7 separate regions of the Homo sapiens genome follow, and regions 1, 2, 3, 4, 5 and 6 are each linked to region 7. Evidence: promoter capture Hi-C in 16 types of primary human blood cells and fetal thymus (Javierre and others, 2016). All regions are on one chromosome and are shown on one strand. The core of a region is centred on a gene start or on the middle of the fragment in contact, and the rest is flanking DNA. Distances in the headings are between cores, read along the strand shown.

Region 1 (3,303 bases), core at 216-2,715, 390 kb after region 7:
AAAAAACTTTGGTCAATGTTTCTGAGTTTACCCTTTCTATAAAGAAACCACTTACTGAACTGTTAATGTCTCTCCTTCCTTTACTCCTCTCCAAGGTGGCTGCTTTTGCTCTTACCAGCTTTTAGTGCTTGCTGGCTCCATCATTATAGCCCTCTCAGGAAAACCATAATTGAGACTTAGACATATTAAGGACATTATCACACCATTGATCTAGTTAATAACAATTACAAAGGAAACATCTTAAAATACAATGCTTGTTCCTGATTAACGGGTACATTATGCTTTGATTTTAAAAAATTGTTTTGAACTTTAAATATAGCTCTTGTTTGGGGGCATAACTATAACTCATAATGTATAATCTTTAAAAGTACTCACTTCACTAGATTATATTGTAATAAATATAGATAAATTTTACTAGTGTAGACTCTCAACTTACTGTCGTATAAACATGAAATCGTTTTTATCATAAGCGTCCTATTATATCAACCTCATTTTCCCACTTGGTGACAGGATTCTTTGAGCACAACTCAGCCCTTTTACATTTTCTTTTCATTTATTTTTAGCAATTAAAACTATCTTTCAGTTATTTAAGACTTGGTCCATTTATTTAAAAATTTCAGTCTCATATTCAATTTATATCTCCATTTACCTTTCTACCTCAGTTCCCATTCCAAGTTAGGTTGGTAGCGGAGAAGAGGTGTGGTCTAGCTCTCACAAACTCCCCTCCACCCCTTCTTGATGCATTAACTCCTCTGATGTTGGGATGTGGGAAGGAATAGAAGCAGGGGTCCACTTTTTCATTTTAGTCCTTTTTGGCCCCTTAGTGGGAGGATGACAATGGTGGATAGCAGTAGTAGCAGCAGTGATGGAACAGTTCTGCTAAAATGGCTACTCCTATGCAGAAGTGCTGACTTCAGTAGCCAACAGTTCTTTCAACTTTGAATCTGGGACATTAACATCTGGTAATACCAACCATAGACCTTAGTTGCAAATTGTTGTACTAGGCACCTAAAACTGCTCTGCCTCATAGCATATATGTTACTGGTATGTGTGTGTATATCAATAGAGTTGATGAAAAATGAAGTTAAGTGGGAATGTATTACATTTTTATGACTTGAATTATTTGACATGTCAAGGAAAAACTATTTAATAATAATATTTTTTTAAATGATTATCCCTGTTGCTGAAGTTTCATTTTAGGTTTACATTAAGCAAATCCTATGTACTGAATGTATGTAACTGAAGGAGAAGCGTTTAGAAGCCTGAGATTGATATTCTTGTTACTGGTTCACTTTTGATAATCATGGAAAATGTAAACCAAGACATGGAATAATAATTATAATAGACAAAACATATAGTGCTTGCTGTGTCTTACGCACAAGTTAACCCTCAGCAACAACCCTATGAGGTAATTAATAGTAGCATTTTCATTTTACTGGTGAGGGTACTGAGGTTCATTAATGATCCTGTCTAGTTGGGAAAATAGACATTGGACAAAGAATTTATAACTGTGTTGGTTATTGGGCATGGAATGTAAAATATATTATGGGAGTATATAAGAAGGGTTTCTAACCTAATATTGGGGGGTGTAAAATATCATGTTTTGCTTGGATTGGGGGTAATGTCTATTTCAGTAAATGGGATGATGATGATGATGATGATGATGATGATGATGATGATACTTGTAGTAATAACAGAAGTAGTAATACAGGTTGAGCATCCCAAATCAGAAAGTCCAAAATCTGAAACTTTTTGAGGGCCTACATGATGCTCAAAGGAAATGCTCTTTGGAGCATTTTGGATGTTTGGATTTGGGATGCTCAATCAGTAATGCACATATTCCAAATCCATCCTATCCTTTAGGAAGATTCAAAAAAATCCAAAACACTCCTGTTCCCAAGCATTTCAGATAAGTGGTACTCAGCCTATAGCAAGAATGATAGCTGTAATGGGGCAGGCTCTGAGCAAAAGTTTTTTATTTAATCCTAATAAAAACCTGATGACATAGTACTATTATTATCCTATTTTCCTTTTGAAAAATCTGAGCCAAAGAAAGAAGTGAGAAATTCAGAATTTATTTGGGTGTTTTCTTAGTATTTGCAAGAGTTACAGTCCTTGAGATAGGGGAAAAATGTGAGAAGAATTAAAATTCTATCATGTAAGGTATTAAAGTTAAATTAGTTAAGATTGTAAAGGATAGAATGGATTGTCATTGAAGGTTCTTTAGAGTTAGAAAGATAGTAAAATGACAGAGCTGGAAATGCAAAATCCAATGAGGGTGTGAGAAAAATTAGGTATATATTAGGTTGGAAATTGCCACCTCAGATGATGTGTTAAGAGTTAGATGATGGTTTATCTTGAACCCAGGAGGACCAAGTGCCTCTAAGGCAGGGGTCCCCAGCCCTGGTCCATGGCCTGTTAGGAACCAGGATGCACAGCGGGAGGTAAGCAGCAAGCGAGCCAGCATTACTGCCTGAGCTCTGCCTCCTGTTAGATCAGTGGGGACATTAGATTCTCATAGGAGTGTGAACTTTATTGTGAACTGCACATGCAAGGTCTAATCCCTGATGATCTGAGGTGGAACAGTTTCATTGAGAAGCCATCTCTCTCCCCATCCCCCACCCCTTGCCCACATGTCCATAATCCATAGTCTTCCATGAAGCCTGTCTCTGGTGCCGTAAAGGTTGGGGACCACTGCTTTAAGAGACCTGGAGTGTACCAGTTGTTACAGTAACTTTTTAAAACAACCACCACCACCACAAAACAAAAAACTCACAGTGTTGGTAGAAGATAACCCTAGCTGGCCCCAGTTTTAGTCTCTTTTCCTAAAGCCGGATGGGAGGAAGAGAATACTCTCTACTTGATCGGCAACCTCAGTGGGCTCTAGTGGTAACTCCCAACTAGTTAGCCTTTCTTAATAGTGTATCATTTAGTTCAGTGGTTCTCAGGCATGAGGTTGATTTGCCTGTTTTAGAATTGCTGCTTGTCTCACAGGATAGCTGATAGGAAGTTCTGTATTATCTATGTTGTAGAACAAAACTGCCTCTAAAATAAGCTGATGATTCTCAAACTTCAGCATGCAACAGAATCATCTCCTGAAGGGCTTGTTAGAAAAATATTGTTGAATACCTCTCCTAGAATTTGTGATTCTGTGTGGCTGAGAATTTGCATTTCTAACAAGTTCTTAAGTAATGCTGATGCTGCTGGTCTGGCAACCACACTTTTCTTAGTGGGTAAGTCTTTTATCCATGGGAAGGTTAGAAGTAAATATAGAAATGATGAAATTTATTAAATGCTTATATT
Region 2 (3,159 bases), core at 112-2,611, 470 kb before region 7:
GGTACATAAATATAAGTGTGTGCTGAATTGAAATAAAGCTACTCTATTGATAGATCTAATTAAAATTACAGTTCAGGGATGTTTACTTTTAAATATGGATCAGTAAAATATTTCTGACTTCCAAAAGATGCATCATAACAGCTTAGGTGGTTTTTATGACATTAAACTACTTTTAGTACTATGTTTTAAAATCCCTTAAGAAAAAAATAGGCTGAAAAACAAATAAGCTTTTTAAGGCCCTCTCAATAGCAAGGTGGCAACTGTTTCTATTTAATTTGGAATTGTATGCCAGCTATTTTTAGTTTCATTTCATAGCATTCTAATTATCATATTTTTTAAAAAATGAATTTATTCAAATGTACAGAATTCTATTAACTTTAAATAATTTTAGGTACATTCTTACATGGGACAAACTAGGGACTGAGAATCATAGTTTTTCAGCACCTATAATACAAACCTTGTAGGACACCTCTGGGTGACTTTCTTAGTGGTCTTTGCCTAGATTAAATAATTTTAAAATGGAAACACATGTTGAGTTTTAAGCTACTGTTCTAACCTCCAGTGCTCTAGTACAGTTCAAGCTTTTGTCTTTGAACCTGTAAAAGTAGGTCATTTCCTTTCTGCTCATCCTCTTTCCTCTCCTTACAAATGAGCTATCTTCATATAGATAATAAAGCAGGGGAAGCAGAAACATATTGGTTGTCTCAGATGGTGAGTAAGGTCATGTACAAAACAAAAAGAACAGAATACAGGGGTCCTTTAAGCTAAATGGAAAAAAAAATGAGTATTAGATTCATTAAGGAGAAAAAGAGACAAGGATAGGTAGTCCCCTTTTATGACTACAGGACTAGGTACCTCTGCCATGTTTTCAGCTTATGAATATAAAAGGCAGTCTTATTCTAGTCCAGAGTACAGAGGGGATAAGCCAAGCCTGATTTTACCATATGCTGACCAATGGGAGCTAGAGTCAATCTTAGTGATGCTTACCCACCACAGTCAATGGTAATATTCAAAATATTTAATCATGGACTAGAAATAGGCAGTGATCAATCAGCATGGATGCCAATGCAAAATGACTATATTAGTGTACTGGTAGACTATATTAGTCTACCAGCTAAATATCAGCCCTGGATAGAGATAAACTATGTTCAGCAAAACTACTGCATAAAATTTTAAATTTATATTAATATAAATTAAGATTATATTAATTACTTTACAAAATGGTTTCTATTTGGCCTCTTTAGAATATAACCTATATGTAGTGTACTGAGAGTTATTTGATTTGCATTGTTTTCAATAGCAACCCTAATGAATGCTCACTTATTCCTAATGTAGAGGCTAATGTTATAGTGAGGTTATTAGATTAGTAATTATAAAATCCAAGGCTTAGGCATGGCTTCATCACTTAATAGCTTTATTAACATAATCAATTCCTTTAGCCTCCTTCAGCGTGTTTCCTCATCTATAAAATGGAGACACTGACACTTATTCCACTTTGATGCCATAATATTCATGAAAGTACTTTGAAAACTATAAAGTGCTATTAATATTATCATACACAGTAAGAGATGTCACAAGAAAACAGTTAATATCACGAATGAAATTTTGAAAGATTTCATTCCTATTGTGTTGCAAACATTAGGTCATTAGAAAAGGTCCCTGTCATTCAAAAACCAACACACATGTTTCTCATTGTTCTTATTTTGTATGTCTCTCTAGGAGTGAAAATGGAAGAATTCCTGCCCCCTGGTGCTAGTCTAAAATGCACCGTCTGTAGCTACACTGCTGATTCCGTGATCAACTTTCACCAACACCTGTTCTCCCATCTCACTCAAGCTGCCTTCCGATGTAATCACTGCCATTTCGGCTTCCAGACTCAGAGGGAGTTATTGCAGCACCAGGAGCTCCATGTCCCTAGCGGCAAACTTCCCAGAGAAAGTGACATGGAACACTCTCCAAGTGCAACTGAAGACAGCTTACAGCCAGCCACAGACTTATTGACCAGAAGCGAACTTCCCCAGAGCCAAAAGGCCATGCAGACTAAAGATGCGAGCTCTGACACAGAGCTGGACAAGTGTGAGAAAAAGACTCAGCTCTTTCTCACGAACCAGAGACCAGAGATACAGCCTACAACAAATAAACAAAGCTTTTCTTACACAAAAATAAAGTCTGAGCCCTCTAGCCCAAGACTTGCCTCATCTCCAGTTCAGCCTAATATTGGGCCTTCTTTCCCTGTGGGCCCTTTCCTATCTCAGTTTTCTTTCCCCCAAGATATCACCATGGTCCCTCAAGCTTCAGAGATCTTAGCTAAGATGTCTGAACTGGTGCATCGGCGACTGAGGCATGGCAGTAGTAGCTACCCTCCCGTCATTTACAGCCCTTTGATGCCCAAGGGGGCTACTTGTTTTGAGTGTAACATAACATTCAATAATTTGGATAATTATCTAGTGCACAAAAAGCATTATTGCAGCAGCCGATGGCAGCAGATGGCTAAGTCCCCAGAGTTCCCTAGTGTGTCAGAAAAGATGCCTGAAGCTTTGAGTCCCAACACTGGCCAAACCTCCATAAACCTTCTCAACCCAGCTGCTCATTCTGCTGATCCTGAGAATCCACTTCTTCAAACATCTTGCATCAATTCTTCCACTGTCTTAGATTTAATTGGGCCAAATGGGAAGGGCCATGACAAGGACTTTTCCACTCAAACTAAGAAGCTCTCCACCTCCAGTAACAATGATGACAAAATTAATGGAAAACCTGTTGATGTGAAAAATCCCAGTGTCCCCTTAGTGGATGGGGAAAGTGACCCAAATAAGACTACCTGTGAAGCTTGCAACATTACCTTCAGCCGGCACGAAACATACATGGTCCACAAACAGTATTACTGTGCTACACGCCACGACCCTCCACTGAAGAGGTCTGCTTCCAACAAAGTGCCTGCCATGCAGAGAACCATGCGCACACGCAAGCGCAGAAAGATGTATGAGATGTGCCTACCTGAGCAGGAACAAAGGCCTCCACTGGTTCAGCAGAGATTTCTTGACGTAGCCAACCTCAATAATCCTTGTACCTCCACTCAAGAACCCACAGAAGGGCTAGGAGAGTGCTACCACCCAAGATGTGATATCTTTCCAGGAATTGTCTCTAAACACTTGGAAACTT
Region 3 (3,063 bases), core at 145-2,644, 360 kb after region 7:
AATCTTGTTGAAATGACCTCACATGTGATAGCACTTAAAAATTCAAAGAAGTGAGCTATAGTTACTTTTCTTCTATTTTTCATATATTTACTTTATTGTAAACGTATATTAGATTATATATGTCTTTTTAGGAATTTCAGTTATATTTAATACATATTTTTTTCTCTATATGCTTAAAATTGCTTTTAATTTTATATCTTTTCAAATACTAATGTATAATTTTTAGAATTAAAAAATATTTTCTATCAAGAAGTACTATTGTGCTCTGTTCTGCGTTTTGTGTGTGTGTGTGTGTGTGTGTGTCTTATAGCATAAGTTCTTACAAGAAAAAAGACAATTTTCTTAAGTTGAAAAAACAATCTAGATACATTAAAAATATTCCAGTGTTGAAGCTATCAAGCCTACTTTTTAGAGGCAAAAGATAGCTAATCCTGTTTTTCCTTGTAAAAAAAATTTTTAAAAAGATATTATATAGAAGTATATTATTTACTGACTCAACTATTAACTAAAAAGCCGTTTCACCCTATGCAGATGATAAGATGAAGGTTATCTTTAAAATTCATTTTCTAAAAAAAAAAAGTCTTTCCTGTTTCTTGCTTATTGTTTTTATAATTTTAGTTGTATTTCTACACATGTCATTCTCTGTATGGCATGGCCTTGATTGAAGTTTGGTGTCTTTTCCCTTTTCATTCAGTCCTTTTCATATTTTTACATTAATGTAATTATTTTTGCTTTGGTTTTCTGGTTTATTAACACCTTCTCTGTCTGAATTATTAAATCCATGTTGTAAATTTTTTTTTACCTTAAAAGTAGCTCATTTTCTTAGGTTTTTTTTTTTTTTAACACTTACACATTTATTAAGCTTGAGGTATGTGTTTAATAATATCTTTAAAAAAATTATTTCACTTTTCTGCCAAGTCTCAAAGCTGCTTTCCTGATTTAACATTGTAGATCCCTGTAATAATTTTTTACAAATCACTATTACCAGATCTTAAACTTGAGGAAAAAATTTTGTGGTTATTATTCACTAGCGTTGTGATAAATATTTCAAATTAATTTTTAAATATATATTATAATTATCATATTTTAAATGCATCATGATTTTAATGTGCTCAATAACTTTTGTAAAGCACTAGGATATATTTTTTCTTATATTATTTAAAATATTCGAGTCCTGAAAAATATGAAATGCTTGGATACATTTCCTCTATTATGTTTCGATGCTTTTCTCCGTAGTTAACCTCTCGTGTCTACAACAACCTGTATCTCAAAGTACATGCACATGTTATGCAAACAACTAAAACCAAGGCAAAAAAAAGTACATTCTATTAAGCAAAATTGGATTGGAAGCACATCCGTAAAGGGAAGAATTCAGGATAGAATAGTGATATTTCAAAAGAAAACTTGGTTTCTCACAGATTCCTCATGGTATATATTCAGATGTTGTTACATAAGAGAACATTCCTTCCAAATTATTTAGTTTCTGGTGTTTTGAGAGAAGAGTAGCCTTCGACATGTCTTAAACTTCCCTTGCATTCATTACTTTTTAAATGTATGCATTTTAATATGGAGACTCTCCCACAAAAATAGTGGAAAAGGACTGGTGTTTTACAGTGGAAATACTAAATGCTGTTGAGATAAGGAAAATCAACTTTTTGAAAGAAAAAAAGATGAAATGATAGCCATCTGATGGTTAAAAAGTGGTAACGTGAGATATTCTATATTTGTGTTTTACATCAATTCTATTATGTCTGATTTACCCTTGAATCAATGTAGTGGCTTAATGATGATGACATCATCAACATATGAAGATGACAAAAAAAATTAAGCTACCGAACTACCCAAATGTTTTTAGGGAATCTTTCTACTTCTTCCCCGCAGCCAAGAAGCAATTATACTGACATTTAGTTCTTTCATTTCCAGCAGGAAGCTTACCTACTCTTTTTTCGGAGATGATTAAAACCTCATGCCACTTAGCAATAAAGAGACCACCATTACTGGTGGGATTCATAGTGGAAAGCATTAAGCATTTTGGCAGTGAGTCCTAAAGCCTTTACCATAGCAGGATTGATATAGGAATAAGTGGAGATTGAGGGCACAGGGGATCCACCAGCTATCCCTTCTGCAGGTCTGTATGATTGCACTTAGCAGATTTCCCATGCTTACTATTACACAGAGAGATTTACTACATAGAATTCCTAACTGGACTCCTACCTTTCAGGTTTCTCCCTGCCTTTCCAATCCATTATCCACACTGCCATCTTAACAGTATTTCTAAAACGTAAAATTCATTGGTTCTCTCCTTTAAAAATCTTTGGAGATTTCCTATTGCCTTCTTCATGTGGTCCAAACTCCTTATTATGGCACATGTGGGTCTTTCAGGGTTTCTAACCTATATTCCTAGAACCTCCTGTTTTCTGTGTCCTTTTCCCAAAGAGCTGACATTAGGAATGCCTGTCCATTGGATTGTTGCAAGGGTTCGATGATAAAATATATAGAAATATTTCATAATAGCTAGCATTTATTGACCCTTTATCATCTTACCAGGTGCCAAAGACTGGGCAGGGAATTTATACATATTCTCTCATTTAATCTTCATACAACCCCAAGAGATGTAAATGCTTTTATAAACTCCATTTTATAAATGAAGAAACAGATTTTGAGAGGTCAGGCAACTTTCCCAAGGTCACACCTATAGATAGAAATGGAGTTGAATTTTATCTCTCCAACTCCAAAATTGATGCTTTTATAGATTTTACTGTTGCTTGGCACATTTCCTAGTGTACAATTCCATTTGATTAAATATTCATTTTTTAAAAACCATTACTATAAAACTTACAGTATCTAAAAAATATTTTGGTTTGCTTTCCTTGCCCTCCAAGGTTAGCTGATACCTCACTTCTTGGACTCTTTCTAGATGTCCCATCCCCTCTCTGCTATCCTCTTCCATCTTCACACGCATCATACTTCAAGTGTAATGGTTGACCTGTATATCTAATGCCTCTGATCTGTTGGCACTTCACGTATGCAGCACTGTGTCTCCATTGTCTTCGTACCCTCAGG
Region 4 (3,229 bases), core at 16-2,515, 330 kb after region 7:
TGGGTGATGGGTTTATGATGGGTGATTGTTATTTTGTTTTTGTTGCTTTTCTATATTGCCAAAACTTTTAATATGGAACGTGTAATTCTCCCTTAAAAAGAAAGGTTTGAATAGAGCTTTAAATTTTAATAAAGAGTACTTTAAGATGTCTTAGAAAGCAAGTCTGTAAAATTGCTTTAAAAATCAAGAACAGGGCCGGGCACAGTGGCTCACACCTATAATCCCAGTAATTTGGGAGGCTGAGGCGGGTGGATCACTTGAGGTCAGCAGTTCAAGACCAGCCTAGCCAACATGGTGAAACCCCCTCTCTACTAAAAATATAAAAATTAGCTGGGCGTGGTGGTGCATGCCTGTAGTCCCAGCTACTCGGGAGGCTGAGGCAGGAGACTCGCTTAAACCCAGGAGGCGGTTGTTGCAGTGAGCCGAGATAGTGCCACTGCACTCCAGCCTGGGCAACAGAGTGAGACTCCATCTCAAAAAACAAACAAACAAACAAACAAAAAACAGAAGAAACCTGAACACTTGCAGGGATTAAATGGGAAAACTTTTTAAAAAGCAGGTGTATACCGTCTATTAACTGTGTGCCATAGCACTTGGCCACAAACCAAGTATACTTTTGAAACCCCTAACTAATCTTTAAATATATTTTCAAACACCTTTTAAAAATGTGTCAGGGGCAAAAATGTCAAAAGCATTATGACTCCTATGGGTGAAGGGATAAGCCACGATGCTTGAAGTCAGGGGTCTTGGCTTTCACAGGGAAAGACAGGATTTCACCATGTTGTCCAAGCTGGTCTCAAACTCCTGACCTCAAGTAATCCACCCGCCTCGGCCTCCCAAAGTGCTGGGATTACAAGTGTGAGCCACCCGTATACAGTATTATTGATATCCTCCAAACCAGATAGGATATTTAGCTTTTTGTAAAATTCTATAGGTATTAAAGCTTGCAGCATTAAAAAGCACTGCTTTTGAACTCTGACAGATGCAGACAATATATCCAGTAACAAAACTGAGTTTCTTTACTAACATATTTTGATAGCGTGACCTTAAACTTGAGACAAAAAGGAGAGAGGAAGAGTTTTATTGAATAAACGTTTCTAGGAAACAGATGCTTAACAAATGGTTGTACAGCTGTTTGCAATAACATGGAAGAAGCCTATCTTTCGATAATTGTGACATAAGTTTTTCTTGTTTGTTCTCCTAGAGTTGTCTGCAAAAAGTTTATGTAATATGCCTGAAGGTTATACTAAGAAGGAAGCATTTCAGAAATGATTGAAGCTGTTTATCTGTGTGCAAAAGCCTGTAAGTGTGTTTGTGTGGGCCTGGGCACGTGTATATGCCTGTGATTCACACATTTCTTTTCACAAAAGATTTGAGGTCACTCAGGATGTCATTCATCCTGGGTAAAAGCCACCTCAGATTACAAGCAGTTAATAGGTCAGATGCTACATAATGCTCTCTTCAACTTAGATTTCTTAAAATCTTACAAGTTGAAGGAGGTGAGAGCCTGGGACTTTTAATTTGCACTGGGGCAAAATCGTTCCTTTGTGCTGAAAACATGTGGCTGACAAGATGCCACTGGGAAAGCCAAGCTTTTTTAGAAGAGTTTGCTGTATAATTCATAAAGATAAAATCTGTAATATTTTATACTTGAAAGCTAAAATTTTTTAAAAAGACATTATCCAAATCAAAACTCTAGCAATTAAAACACACAGATAGGGTATGGTTGACTTTCTGCAATGCTAATCTGGTTTCTGTCTTAGGTCTATTTGTACAGGACAGATATTCTACTTTATTCTCCAACAAGACTCAGCCTGGAGTTGCCTGGTGACCTGCTTTAATTGAGCCAACCACATTCTGTAGGGGAAAAGCCAGACCAGAAATAGCTAGGATTTAATGGTGAGAACAAAGGCATTCCTAAAATCCTCAAATCTGGGCCTAGCATGGTGGCTCACACCTGTAATTCCAGCACTTTTGGAGGCTGAGGCAGGTGGATCACCTGAGGTCGGGAGTTCCAGACTAGCTTGACCAATATGGTGAAACCCCGTCTCTACTAAAAAAAAAAAAAAAAAAAATTAGGCGGGCATGGTGGGCGCCTGTAATCCCAGCTACTCAGGAGGCTGAGGTGGGAGAATCACATGAACCCGGGAGGTGGAGGTTGCAGTGAGCCGAGATGGTGCCACTGCACTTCAGCCTGGGTGACAGAGGGAGACCCTGTCTCCAAAAAAAGAAAAAGAAAAAATAAAATAAAGGAAACACAAAAAACACCTCAAATCTGATATCTCCCACTTCCTACTTAGGTTGAAACAACATATGACTTCTCTAAGTCTCTATTTTTATTTTCAATAAAATGTGGATGATAATAATAAAATGTGGATGATAATCCCACCTCACTATGGGATGCAAAGTGTTTACCAGATGTATTATGTTTCCTATTGCAGTTGTGACAAGTCATGCAAAAGTTAGTGGCTTAAAACAAATTTATTATATTAAGTCCCAGCATTCTGAAGTCCAAAATGCATCTCACTGGGGCTAAAGTCGAGGTGTCAGTAGGTCTGTGCTCCTTTCTAGAGGCCCTGTGGGAGAATCCATTTTCTTGCCTTTTCTAGCTTCTAGAGGCCCCCTACTTTCCCTGGCTCTTGGCCACCTACCATCGTCAAAGCCAGCAATGTCCCAGCAAGTCTTCCTTAGAGCATATCACTATGATACTCTTTATTTATTTATTTATTTATTTATTTATTGAGACAGAGTCCCACTCTGTTGCCCAGGCTGGAGTGCAGTGGTGTAATCTCGGATCACTGCAACCACCACCTCCCAAGTCCAAGTGATTTTCCTTCCTCAGCCTCATTAGTAGCTGAGATTACAGGCATGTGCCATCATGCCTGGCTAATTTTTTTTTTTTTTTTGTATTTTTACTAGAAACAGGGTTTCACCATTTTGGTCAGGCTGGTACCAAACTCCTGATCTCAAATGATCCGCCCGCTTCAGCCTCTCAAAGTGCTAGGATTATAGGCATGAGCCACTGCACCTGGCCACTATGATACTCTTGATATCATATGATAGCTCTTGCTTCCCTCTTCCACTTGGACCTTTTTGATTACAATGGGCCCACCTGGATAATTCAGTATAATTTCCCATCTCACAGTCAGCTGCAACCTTAATTCCATCTGCGTCCTTAATTTCTCTTTGCCAAGTAAGGTAGCATTCACAGATTCCAGGGATCAATATA
Region 5 (3,168 bases), core at 100-2,599, 360 kb before region 7:
TGAAGAAGGAGGATCACTTGAGCCCAGGAGTTCAAGGTTGCAGTGAGCCCTGTACTCCAGCCTGGGTGACAGGGCAAGACACTGTCTTAAAGAAAAAAAGAAAAACAAAAGTAATTATAAAGTAAAACTCTGTGTTCCCCCAGAGAAGTTACAAAACAAATTTTTAACAGGATCTTAGAAATACCCTGTGAGCCCTTTCACTGAAATCTTGTCTCTCCCTTCTTAGGTAACTCCTGCTACCCTATGCACCGACTATTTCTTATCCCTAAACAATGTATTATTGACTTTCAAAATCAGTATCAGCAACAACCTAGCTTTGTAAGGAAAGAGCAATCTTGGCACTGTAAATGAAGACTCCCAGGGGAAGAGAGGCAGAAAAGTACCTGGTCTTGCTTCATCTCACCTGAGGTCTGTAAGAGCCCCTTCTGAGAAGGGACCCGAGTGAATTCTGGGAAGTGTAGGACTCACTAGAGCTCAGGCATGTGGCAGAATTACATACAGGTCAGGAAGTAGCTGTGCAATCGAAATGTATTCAAGGTGTGAGCTGCTCAGTTTTTGCTGCTACATTTTTACCATGTTGTATCACTCATTGTCAAGAGGAGGCCAGAACAGAAGACAACTGTGCAGCAAAATGAGTGTCTTCATGTAGCAAAGTATAGAGGACCAAGAACAGCTTCTTCAGCGGATGGCCAAGACATGCCAAGTACGGATAAGACTCTGAGCCAGGTAATGTGAGCCCTTCTCTCTCCTCTTGCAGATACTGCTTTCAAGTTAAACCTAAAGGAATTGGCATGGAGATCTTTGAAAAACAACCTTGGACATGTTGAGTTGCATGACCCCTTAGTCCCTTGCTGTCATTTCTTGCTTCTTCCTGAAGACAAGACTGTTAATGGCATGCTAGATAAATCCTAGACATGTACCCAGGAAAAAATAAAAAACAAAGGAAATGCTACCTCATCAAAGAAAACCACTTGGGTGAAGGCCTGTGTTAAAAGGCCCCGGTGGGGACAGCAGCATACCAAGATCATGGGAGGCATAGGAATGCCAGGCCAGGTGCCAGAGTGGTACCTTGCACCAACCACCCCCTTTTGCTGTTGACTCTGCTTGTTTTCTCTGTAGCTAAATAAATGAAAGCAGAATATAAGTGATCGCTTTAGTTTTTCCCTCTTCTCAATAATAACAAAATCCTATTTTCTAAATGGAAGTGCATCACAAGCTTTCGCAGAGAAGGGAGTAGCCAAAGGAAATTTCAGACAGTTGGAAAATAAACTCTTGCCCTACAGTGCCTGGAGTTTTAGCAAAGGCAGAATCATCCCTCTTTGTTTCCTCCTTGTTGTCCTTTAATCCATGATAACACTCCCAATCCAAGGTGAGAGATGTAAACGCAGAGCCAGAGCACGCTCTTGGAGAATTAGTTCTGTTCATATGGAGAAATCTGAAAGGCATCATTCTTTTCTAGCAGCAGAGCCAGCGTGACAAGGAAAAGCTTGGCTGCTGCATTTGGAATGTGTGTCTAAAGCTTGTTTTCCATTCAGTGCCACAATTGCAAGGGGCCAAAAAGTGTTTCAGCAAGGTAAATGCATGCTCTGGACCTTGGAAAAGGCTTCTGAACTCATCCCAGGTGAAAACAGAAGCAAAATGAGGAAGGATTTTTTTTTGTTTGTTTTTAAGTGGTTTGAAGCCGTTTATTCTTCACCTAACATAAGGAAAGTAAATTAATTATACCAGTATTAATTGGAGGGTGTTAGTTTCCTATAGAATTTGCAAAATCTATATTATGGAACTGGTGAAAGATGCTAAAAGTTAGGTGAGAAGGGATTTTTGTGGTTAATTGCACTCACCAAACGAGGGTAAAATAAGTTAATCACTAACTTTCTATTAATCATGATACTAAAATTACTAGACATTCTAATCTTCATCTATGGTAGTTAATGGATTATTTACTGTATGTCTGTGGACAAATGTGAAAGTAGTTCATACTCCGTTTTCTCATTAAATATCAAAATTATTATTTATTTGGATACTGTATCTTTATTTCCAGAGGGAAATATGCATTTTAAACCACAAGAGGGCAGTAGCATTACATTTTGAATTAAATGCCTCTTCTGAAGCTCAATATTGGGTCTAAAACTATAATTACAGTGTAACAATTACATGTCTTTTTCTGAATAGTTCTTATTAATTCTGTTGGTGTTTTATGAGTAAAGTTTTATAGTAAGTTCCTGTGACTGTGGTTTGTTAGAAATGAGACTACTTTCAAAGAAAACTGCAAGAAGATAATTTTAATGAGTGAATTAAAGTGCCTCCTGAGGATGATTTTCTCAAAAGTTGTTTAAACTTTACTTTAAATATCACATTATTAAAATTATACAAGTGATTTTTTCAATTATATTAACAGCTAGTATAGAAAATAAGTATAATTAGCAATGGATAAAACTTCATGGTTTAGATGTATGCATTTTAAAAACTAGACGTTATTTAAAGAAGAAACTTATGATGAGCAACCCAAATTTAATGTAAAAAATAATTAAATATTTTTCCTCTGCTGAATCTACATTTTTCCATATTCAGGATGTAAAAAATTTCAGTTGTTTTATTTAGCCACCAGGTGGTGCTGCCTATTTAAACAATGAAGTAGAGAAAAATGATCTAAGAATACATGTTCAAAGCATATTTATATATTCACCAGATTTTTTGAATGTATAAATTGAGTTTAATTTCTGTGAGGCAGGCCTTTCAAAAAATACATTAGAAAGTCCAGGGGAGGAAAATGCACTCTCTGGAACAGCTACTTTACAGAACTACATGAAATTCATGAAATTTATCTAATGGTGAAATTTAAACATAGGTAGTAACCTTTTCACAAAAGAATAAAATGGCCTAGTCTAATAAAATCTCAGTGCATGAGAGCTACTTATTTTTATCCATGAAATTGTTTCTTTTGTTTTGCAGGCAATGAAAAACAATTGCATTTCATTACTTTTCACATTGATTAAAGGTAAAAGAAAATTTTTCCCTATTCAACAAAACATGGATAAATCAAATAAATTGCATTTAATCTGTGTTATCTGTAGATGCTGAAGTAATTATATGTGTGGAAAAGTCAAACGTCATCCATATTCATTCATTCACCAAAAATAGGTTCATTTACATTTAGGTGGGGATAAA
Region 6 (3,345 bases), core at 317-2,816, 380 kb after region 7:
TATTGAGAGAATAAGGCTGATAGGAAACCAAATTTTTAAACTGGGAGGATAAATGATCGACAGATTCTTTTTAGCTTCAGCAACTCCGCATTCTCCCCATTTTGCTTTTGTTGTTTGTTGGTTTTCCTCTGGTTGTATTAAGAAAATACTTATTCACATACACAAAAGGTAAATGAATAGTTTCGCAATCTCAGAATACTTTTCAGAATATAGACATGGCAAGAGACAATTGAAAAGCAAAATCATTAACAAATCAGGTGATCTTTAGCATATTAATATATCATTAAAAATGTAACTTAATCATTTGCAAAATCTATCAGTCAAAATAAGCTAAGCTTATTCTGTGATGCCAAATGAACCCCTAAACCTAAGTGACTTGCTGAAATAGGTGTATATTTCTTGATGTATTTCTTGTTCCTCTTACATATCCAATTTTGGGTTGTATTGGGAGCAGGGGCTCTGATCCATATAGTTACATAGGGATCCAGACTGATGGAGGCTCCACCATCTTGTAGCTGTACCGTCCTGTGCACATCATATCCTTAGCTGCTGAGGCAGGGGCTGAGGCACCTGGAGCGTAAAACACTGGCAGTTTTAAACAGCGCCTGTTCTTTGCACACGTATGTGAAACACATACATCACTGCTCGGTGGTTGCCAGATCTAGTCTCATGGACCTTTTTCGGAAGTCATTGTGTGACTCATATGAACTAAATATGCAAAAACCATTTGGAAGAACTAAAGTAGCAGGCCGCAAACGTGGCTTATAATTTAAAAATTGAGGTTCCTGAGTTCCCCACCCTACAGCCATGGAACCAGAATCTCTGCGTATAGTTGGAGAATTTTAATTTTTTAAAAAGTTCCACAGCTGATTCTCATTATCAACAGGCAGCTGCTGCTGTGAACAAGGAGTGTTTTTAAAGCGGAGAAAAGGCAATACTTAGATTGGCGGATTTAAGATTACCCTGGCTGCAGTGTTGGAGATCGATTAAAGAGGGGGTAAAGTAGAAGCTGGGAGATTTCATTTTACTACATAATGTATAGGCTCTAATGAGCAAACACAAATGCATGTGCTTACATATCATGCAGTGTGTTAGCAGAACTAGCTCAATCTGAGGGCCTAACAATGTTGTTGATGTCTCTGTATATTTAAGAATCTTATCCCCAACCCTTCCTTCCGGACTCCTAGAAAACCAGTAGGGTAGGTACAAATTGGCTGCCAACCAGTCCTTGTTCAATGCATTTGATAAATTCTACTGGTGGTGGTGGCTGTATAGCCAGCTTGGCACCCATATGAGTCTGTGGATAGTAGGTGGGGCTGAGGTGCCTAGGCATGCCCTGCTTCTCTCTTGAGAGGCAATTAGAAATGATCCAACTTTCCTTCAAGCCTGTTAGGGCAGCATAGATTTGAGTTTTGAATCTGGTTATATTGCTGTGTCTACTGTTCTCTAGGAAGACTTGAGAATTTAGAGTAGATCTGCAACAGAAGAAAATGACCAGTGCATGATTCTGCTTGAAAACTAAACCTGTCTAGTCAGTGCTGGATCATTTAAAGATTGACCATCTAGGTTTGAATTTCTCTTCCTATATGCTGACTGCCTTTGGGCTGATTCACCTGGGGATATTAGCATCTTTCCCAGATTGTGTTTGGTATGGGGAGGTGGGGAGTTAGGGAACTCCCATCTACTTTGGGAAGAGGAATAAGTTCTATTCCTTTCAAACATTATGTACAGCACTTAGGAGTTTGCTGTTCATGCATCATGGCTGAAACATTTGGACAATTGATAAAAATTTGTCATTGCTGCCCAGCACTTTCTCTGAGATGGATGAACTTATAGGTAGGCTCTCTTTTTATTGTACTTCATTTCATCTTGTATTGACACAGCCCCAGTTATAGACTTTCCCCCAACAGAAGGAACAACAACAACAAAAAACTACCTAACTACTGGTTACAGGTTAAAGCTGGAAATGTGCTGGCAACAGATTTAGGTTTTTCCAATATTATTTTGCCTGTTCATCTTCTTTTTTCTCTATTATCTTTTTTTTTTCTTTTTTTGAGACAGAGTCTCACTCTGTTGCCCAGGCTAGAGTGCAGTGGCGTGATCTCGGCTCACTGCAACCTCCGCCCCCCAAGTTCAAACGATTCTCCTGCCTCAGTTTCCCAAGTAGCTGGGATTACAGGTGCACACCACCAAGCCTGACTAATTTTTGTAATTTTTAGTAGAGATTGGTTTTCGCTATGTTGGCCAGGCTGGTCTCAAACTCCTGACCTCAGGGTGATCTGCTCACCTCAGATTCCCAAAGTGCTGGAATTACAGGCATGAGCCACCGCGCTTGGCCCTATTATCTTTAATAAAAACAAAGATAGGGAAATTATCCAAAAAATTAGCTAAAAGCTATATAACTTTAAAATATGTGAAATTAATAATTTCAATAAAGTACTTAATATACCACAAAACAAATGTTTTCACTTATCAGCTTTTCAGATTAAGTATCAAAATTCTATTCAAGTAACATGAGAAGGTACAGCAATATGTGAAGACCCATTATAGAATTAAGAGAGGAGAAGAGGAAGAACAAGGGTAAAGAAGGGCCCAGAAAGATAAAAAGACAGAGGGTAAGACCTCCTTATAGCTATGCATACAGTACCTTCTGTAGACACACACTCTCTACTGCAACCTCAAAGAAAGTGCAGGCAGGAAAAGAAATCTGCAGAAGAAAGAAAATGAGAATGTTTGTCTTCATGATGTAACATTATTCTTTGGGTGTCCTGATGAGCTATTGTTCCTCAAGGTTTTTAAAGCTTTATTGAGTTTTCAGAACTTTAAGCACCATTGGTAATACCAATTGGCACTTGTCCAATGAGCTGAGTGAAACTGATCCAAAAGCTCCAGAAGCTGCCACATTCCAGGTATGGAGTATTTGGGGGCTGTAATTATACCATTGTAATTACTGTCTTTAATAGGATTAAAAATAGAACTGGAATAATTCTATGGTAAGTTGATGTCACTTATTGTGACCCAAGTTTCAATTATAATTGTTAACGATGCTATTGCTGAGTCCTTGTTTGGCTTGACTGCCATGCAGTGTTTTTCTGATGAGTGAAGGAGTTAACACCTTTTGGACAATTTTCAGAATTGAAAGAAAATTACTTGGTTTTTAGTAGGGTTTGTAATTATTATATCCAAGGTTGGTATCTTCTAGAGGGGAACTTTTTAGAAAATTAATATTAGACTCTCTCCCAGTCTATTGAAAGGCCGTATTAAATCTCTATCATATACTCTTCAATGCTGTGATCATGATTATATTCAAACGATAACCCACATTCTTCCTCTTTGTGGTCATTT
Region 7 (3,186 bases), core at 507-3,006:
CTTATTTTGGGGTGCACATGGCACTAAATTGCAAGTGGGGATGGAAGGGCGCAAATATCTTAGGAGGGAGGACATCTTGACCCAAATAGACAGATTCCACTACAGTTCTATGAAAAAATCACATGTACATTACTTAGTAGGGTTAGCAAAGTCTAACTAATTTATAATACTGGGAAAACAAAGTAGCTTTATCACAGAGTCTGAACTGAGATAATTATAAAATACATACCTAGTCTATACATTGCTTGTAGAAGATTCTCAGTAAAATCTTTCTGATAGAATAAAAATTAAACGCTATCAGTTTCAACATAACAGAAAATTTAAGCTGCGAATGCTCGTAAAGAAATTAGGTAAAAATAATGGAGAACAAAACCCGCAATCGGCTTATCAATCGGCTTACTGTTGACACGCCACGCCACTCAGAATAGTATCTAATTTTCTTGATCCCTTATCTCAGGTAAAGCTATTGACTCGGGGAAATAGGTTATGCGGAAACCATGAAAGTTTCTAGTCTGGCCGACCCTAGGTTCAACACTCTATTATTCCAGACAAGCGATGAGCTCCTGTCGCTAAATTTCAACATCCCTGTCTGTCAAATGGGAATAATAATGATTCTCTCATTGGGTGGCTGTGAGAGGTGAGTGAAACAAGACGGAAATTTGACCCAGGAAATATCTGTACCTCTTACTTTAAAGAACAGAATTAAAAAATAATAATAAATGATCAGAAATTAAGGTAGAATAGAGTGAACACTAATAGCGGGAAATAGCTAATTTGCAGGTGAGGTGGCTGAAAGGCTCCTACGCTTGAAGTGTTTGCTGGATGCACAGGAGATCTGGGATACATCCCGAACTCGGCAACAGGACCAGCTCCTTTCCTCAGGGTTACAGAACAGCCAGGTTCCAGTTCAGGTCTGGGAATCTACCCATCCAGAGTTTGCGCCCTTTTCGTTTTGCAATTTAAAACCGGGTTGGAGGGGGAAGGAGTGAAGGCAGCATGCGGAGAAAGTAAATTACAGTTCAGGTGACAGGAACAAGAAAATCTCCAAGGTCAGGGTGGGGTGTCAACGAATTATGCAAAACACTGCGGAATGAGGAGTCACAAACGCCTTGCAAAGAATTCTGAATTTTAGAAGCTCTTTGCAGAACCCCCTTCAGCCCGCTCCAAGCTGCCTTGGGTCCCTTTCTAGGCTGTCAGACTTCGCCTTCCTTTCCTCCTTGTTTTTCCCAGCAACCAAAGCATCTGAAGAACATTTTTTTCCTCCGTAAATCTGAACAAATTTCCTTGCAGCTTTCCTTGCAGAAGCTTTTTTATCGCTTTAACAAAACTTTCCTCTGCTTCTCTAGGGAGAGCCTAGTATTAGAGCTGCCCGACAGGCGGGACCCCGAAATCGGGGCAGCTCTGGCTTAGTCCAGGCTATTCGAGTGGGCGCCTGAACTGGAGGCGCCGTCTCCACCGGGATGGGGATCCTAGTGCAGGCAGACGCCTGGCAGGACTCGGCGAGCTGGGGTCCCCACCGCGGTAGCCAGAGCAGAAACCCGAACCCCAGCCAGAGGGGCCGCGCGCGGGGAGGGGTGCGCGCTAAGCCAGCGTGGCTTCCGCAGGAGCTATTTTTAGCGGTGCGTGCCTCCCCCCGCCCCCGGCGTGGTAGCCTCCGGCTCGCGGCGCCCCACGGCTCCTCTCAGTCTCCCCCGCCGCTGCCGGCTCTTGGTAGCTTCCACGCGGGCAGGTCCGGAAACTGAGCATGTCTGCAAGCGCTCAGCGGCGCCGGCAGCAGCGGGGCTAGAGCTGGGCTGCGTCAGGCTGAGCCCATTCACCTCGCGGCCACAGGAGCTCAGCGCCGGCGCCGCGCCGCCCAGCCCCGCCGAGAGGGGCGCACTCGCCGCCGCGGGGCCCGCCGCCGCTCACCGCAGCCCCCTCCTGGCGACCCGCAAGTAAGTTTGTGAGGCTGCTGGGCGTTAGGGCGAGGGCTTGGCGCCCGGGGGAGTCCAGGAGGGATAGCGAGAGGCGCGGCTGGCGCCCGGGAGAGCCGGCTGGCCTCTGCCCCCTGTGCCTGGCGCCTCTCCGAGCCACTTAGCCAATTTGAAAGCGGGTGGCCATTGGGATGCTCGAGCGGGGACGACGGGCAGAGCAGGAGGGCAGAACTAGCTCCAGCGGGGGCCCAGAGGGCGGACTTGGGAAGAAGGAAAGACCGCGCGGCGAGGGAGGAGACCGGGCGGCGAGGGAGGAGACCGGGCGGGGAGGCTGGGTTTGGGGCGCGGGAGCCCGGCCAGGGACAGCCGCAGAAGGAAAGTGGGGGTGTCGCCGGGGGATAGAGTGGGAGCAGCGTGAGAGCAGTGTTGGGGGCGCAGAGTGGAGGGCAAGCGTGTCTTGAACAGAACGGCAGGAGGATGGGTGGAAAGTGGGGCGCGTGGAAAGCGGATTTGGACGAGAGCAAAGGACGCCGGTGGAAGGGACAGTGGGCTCCGGAGGGGCGAGTGGATTCGGATAATTTGGGGAATCAGTAAAAGGCTAGGGGGCACATCATGATGGAGTCAGCCTGGAATCTGTCTCCCGCTAGAGTACCCGAGGCCACATGTTGGGAACTGGCTGGGGAAAGGATGGATGTAGAAAGTGGCCTGGAGGGCCGACTGGAAAATCGCTGAGGGATTTGGGTGAAGAGGGGGGGAGCTGTGCAGTATCGGGCGGAGGAACTGGGCTGCTGGTAGGGCCTGAAAGGTTCAGGAGAGGGTTGGAGGCTTCCCCGTGCCGCCCCTTGAATAGTGATTTAGTACTGTTATCTGAGGTTCACTTTCACCCCTGGCTCCTCCTCCGTCTACTACCCGGCTTGGACGCACCTCGGCTCGCTGTAGGCGAGCTTTAGGAGATTTAAATAGACATTAGGCAGTGGGGAAGGTAGTCGTTTACGGGGGGAGCTGCTCGGGCTTCCGTTCAGTGGTTCCCGGCACGCTCAGGGTGCAGTGTAGGGTCTGAATGTGTGTATTGCGGGGGTAGGGGGAGTGGTGTCAGTTCTAGGCCACAGGAATTCGTGGTCTGGCCCCAGAGGTGCGGTGTTTTTGGCCGGGAAGTCAGGCAGAAGTCTGCAGCGTGCAACTCGCAGCGGGGCGTGTGTGTGCGTGTGTGCGCGCGCGTGTGCATGTTTCCGGCCCGGGGTCGCGTGTGTGGCTGCAGCCTGTCTCCGTGACA

Evidence for each region. The method cuts DNA at HindIII sites, captures the fragments that hold promoters and counts their contacts. A CHiCAGO score of 5 or more calls a contact.
Region 1: a fragment that was not itself captured here is called in contact with the fragment with the promoter of OXR1 in region 7 in 1 of 17 cell types (fetal thymus); the score reaches 6.4 in fetal thymus.
Region 2: a fragment that was not itself captured here is called in contact with the fragment with the promoter of OXR1 in region 7 in 1 of 17 cell types (fetal thymus); the score reaches 5.1 in fetal thymus.
Region 3: a contact is called between a fragment that was not itself captured here and the fragment with the promoter of OXR1 in region 7, in 1 of 17 cell types (fetal thymus). The highest score is 5.6, in fetal thymus.
Region 4: a contact is called between a fragment that was not itself captured here and the fragment with the promoter of OXR1 in region 7, in 1 of 17 cell types (fetal thymus). The highest score is 5.9, in fetal thymus.
Region 5: a fragment that was not itself captured here is called in contact with the fragment with the promoter of OXR1 in region 7 in 1 of 17 cell types (megakaryocytes); the score reaches 5.3 in megakaryocytes.
Region 6: a contact is called between a fragment that was not itself captured here and the fragment with the promoter of OXR1 in region 7, in 1 of 17 cell types (naive CD4 T cells). The highest score is 5.1, in naive CD4 T cells.

Annotation. Positions count from the first base shown.
Region 1 is chr8:106,661,199-106,664,501 of GRCh38, forward strand. All of the region lies in intron 3 of OXR1 (oxidation resistance 1), which reads left to right. Among named protein-coding and RNA genes, the nearest start is that of OXR1-AS1, 5.1 kb to the left of the region's middle. RefSeq lists enhancers at 1-189, 2,661-3,161. The HindIII fragment of the contact is 6,673 bases long and covers 1-3,303 here.
Region 2 is chr8:105,799,328-105,802,486 of GRCh38, forward strand. ZFPM2 (zinc finger protein, FOG family member 2) reads left to right here. Exons shown (of 8, transcript NM_012082.4): 8 at 1,720-3,159. The region is part of intron 2 of ZFPM2-AS1 (ZFPM2 antisense RNA 1); the gene reads right to left. Among named protein-coding and RNA genes, the nearest start is that of ZFPM2-AS1, 260 kb to the right of the region's middle. RefSeq lists an enhancer at 2,890-3,159. The HindIII fragment of the contact is 1,565 bases long and covers 580-2,144 here.
Region 3 is chr8:106,625,767-106,628,829 of GRCh38, forward strand. All of the region lies in intron 3 of OXR1 (oxidation resistance 1), which reads left to right. The region is part of intron 1 of OXR1-AS1 (OXR1 antisense RNA 1); the gene reads right to left. Among named protein-coding and RNA genes, the nearest start is that of OXR1-AS1, 30 kb to the right of the region's middle. The HindIII fragment of the contact is 1,068 bases long and covers 861-1,928 here.
Region 4 is chr8:106,603,578-106,606,806 of GRCh38, forward strand. All of the region lies in intron 3 of OXR1 (oxidation resistance 1), which reads left to right. All of the region lies in intron 1 of OXR1-AS1 (OXR1 antisense RNA 1), which reads right to left. Among named protein-coding and RNA genes, the nearest start is that of OXR1-AS1, 53 kb to the right of the region's middle. The HindIII fragment of the contact is 649 bases long and covers 942-1,590 here.
Region 5 is chr8:105,903,996-105,907,163 of GRCh38, forward strand. All of the region lies in intron 2 of ZFPM2-AS1 (ZFPM2 antisense RNA 1), which reads right to left. Among named protein-coding and RNA genes, the nearest start is that of ZFPM2-AS1, 150 kb to the right of the region's middle. The HindIII fragment of the contact is 270 bases long and covers 1,215-1,484 here.
Region 6 is chr8:106,644,070-106,647,414 of GRCh38, forward strand. The region is part of intron 3 of OXR1 (oxidation resistance 1); the gene reads left to right. The region is part of intron 1 of OXR1-AS1 (OXR1 antisense RNA 1); the gene reads right to left. Among named protein-coding and RNA genes, the nearest start is that of OXR1-AS1, 12 kb to the right of the region's middle. The HindIII fragment of the contact is 2,466 bases long and covers 334-2,799 here.
Region 7 is chr8:106,268,434-106,271,619 of GRCh38, forward strand. OXR1 (oxidation resistance 1) reads left to right here and starts at 1,757. Exons shown (of 17, transcript NM_001198533.2): 1 at 1,757-1,934. RefSeq lists silencers at 1,482-1,731, 1,752-2,111. The HindIII fragment of the contact is 2,469 bases long and covers 1,304-3,186 here.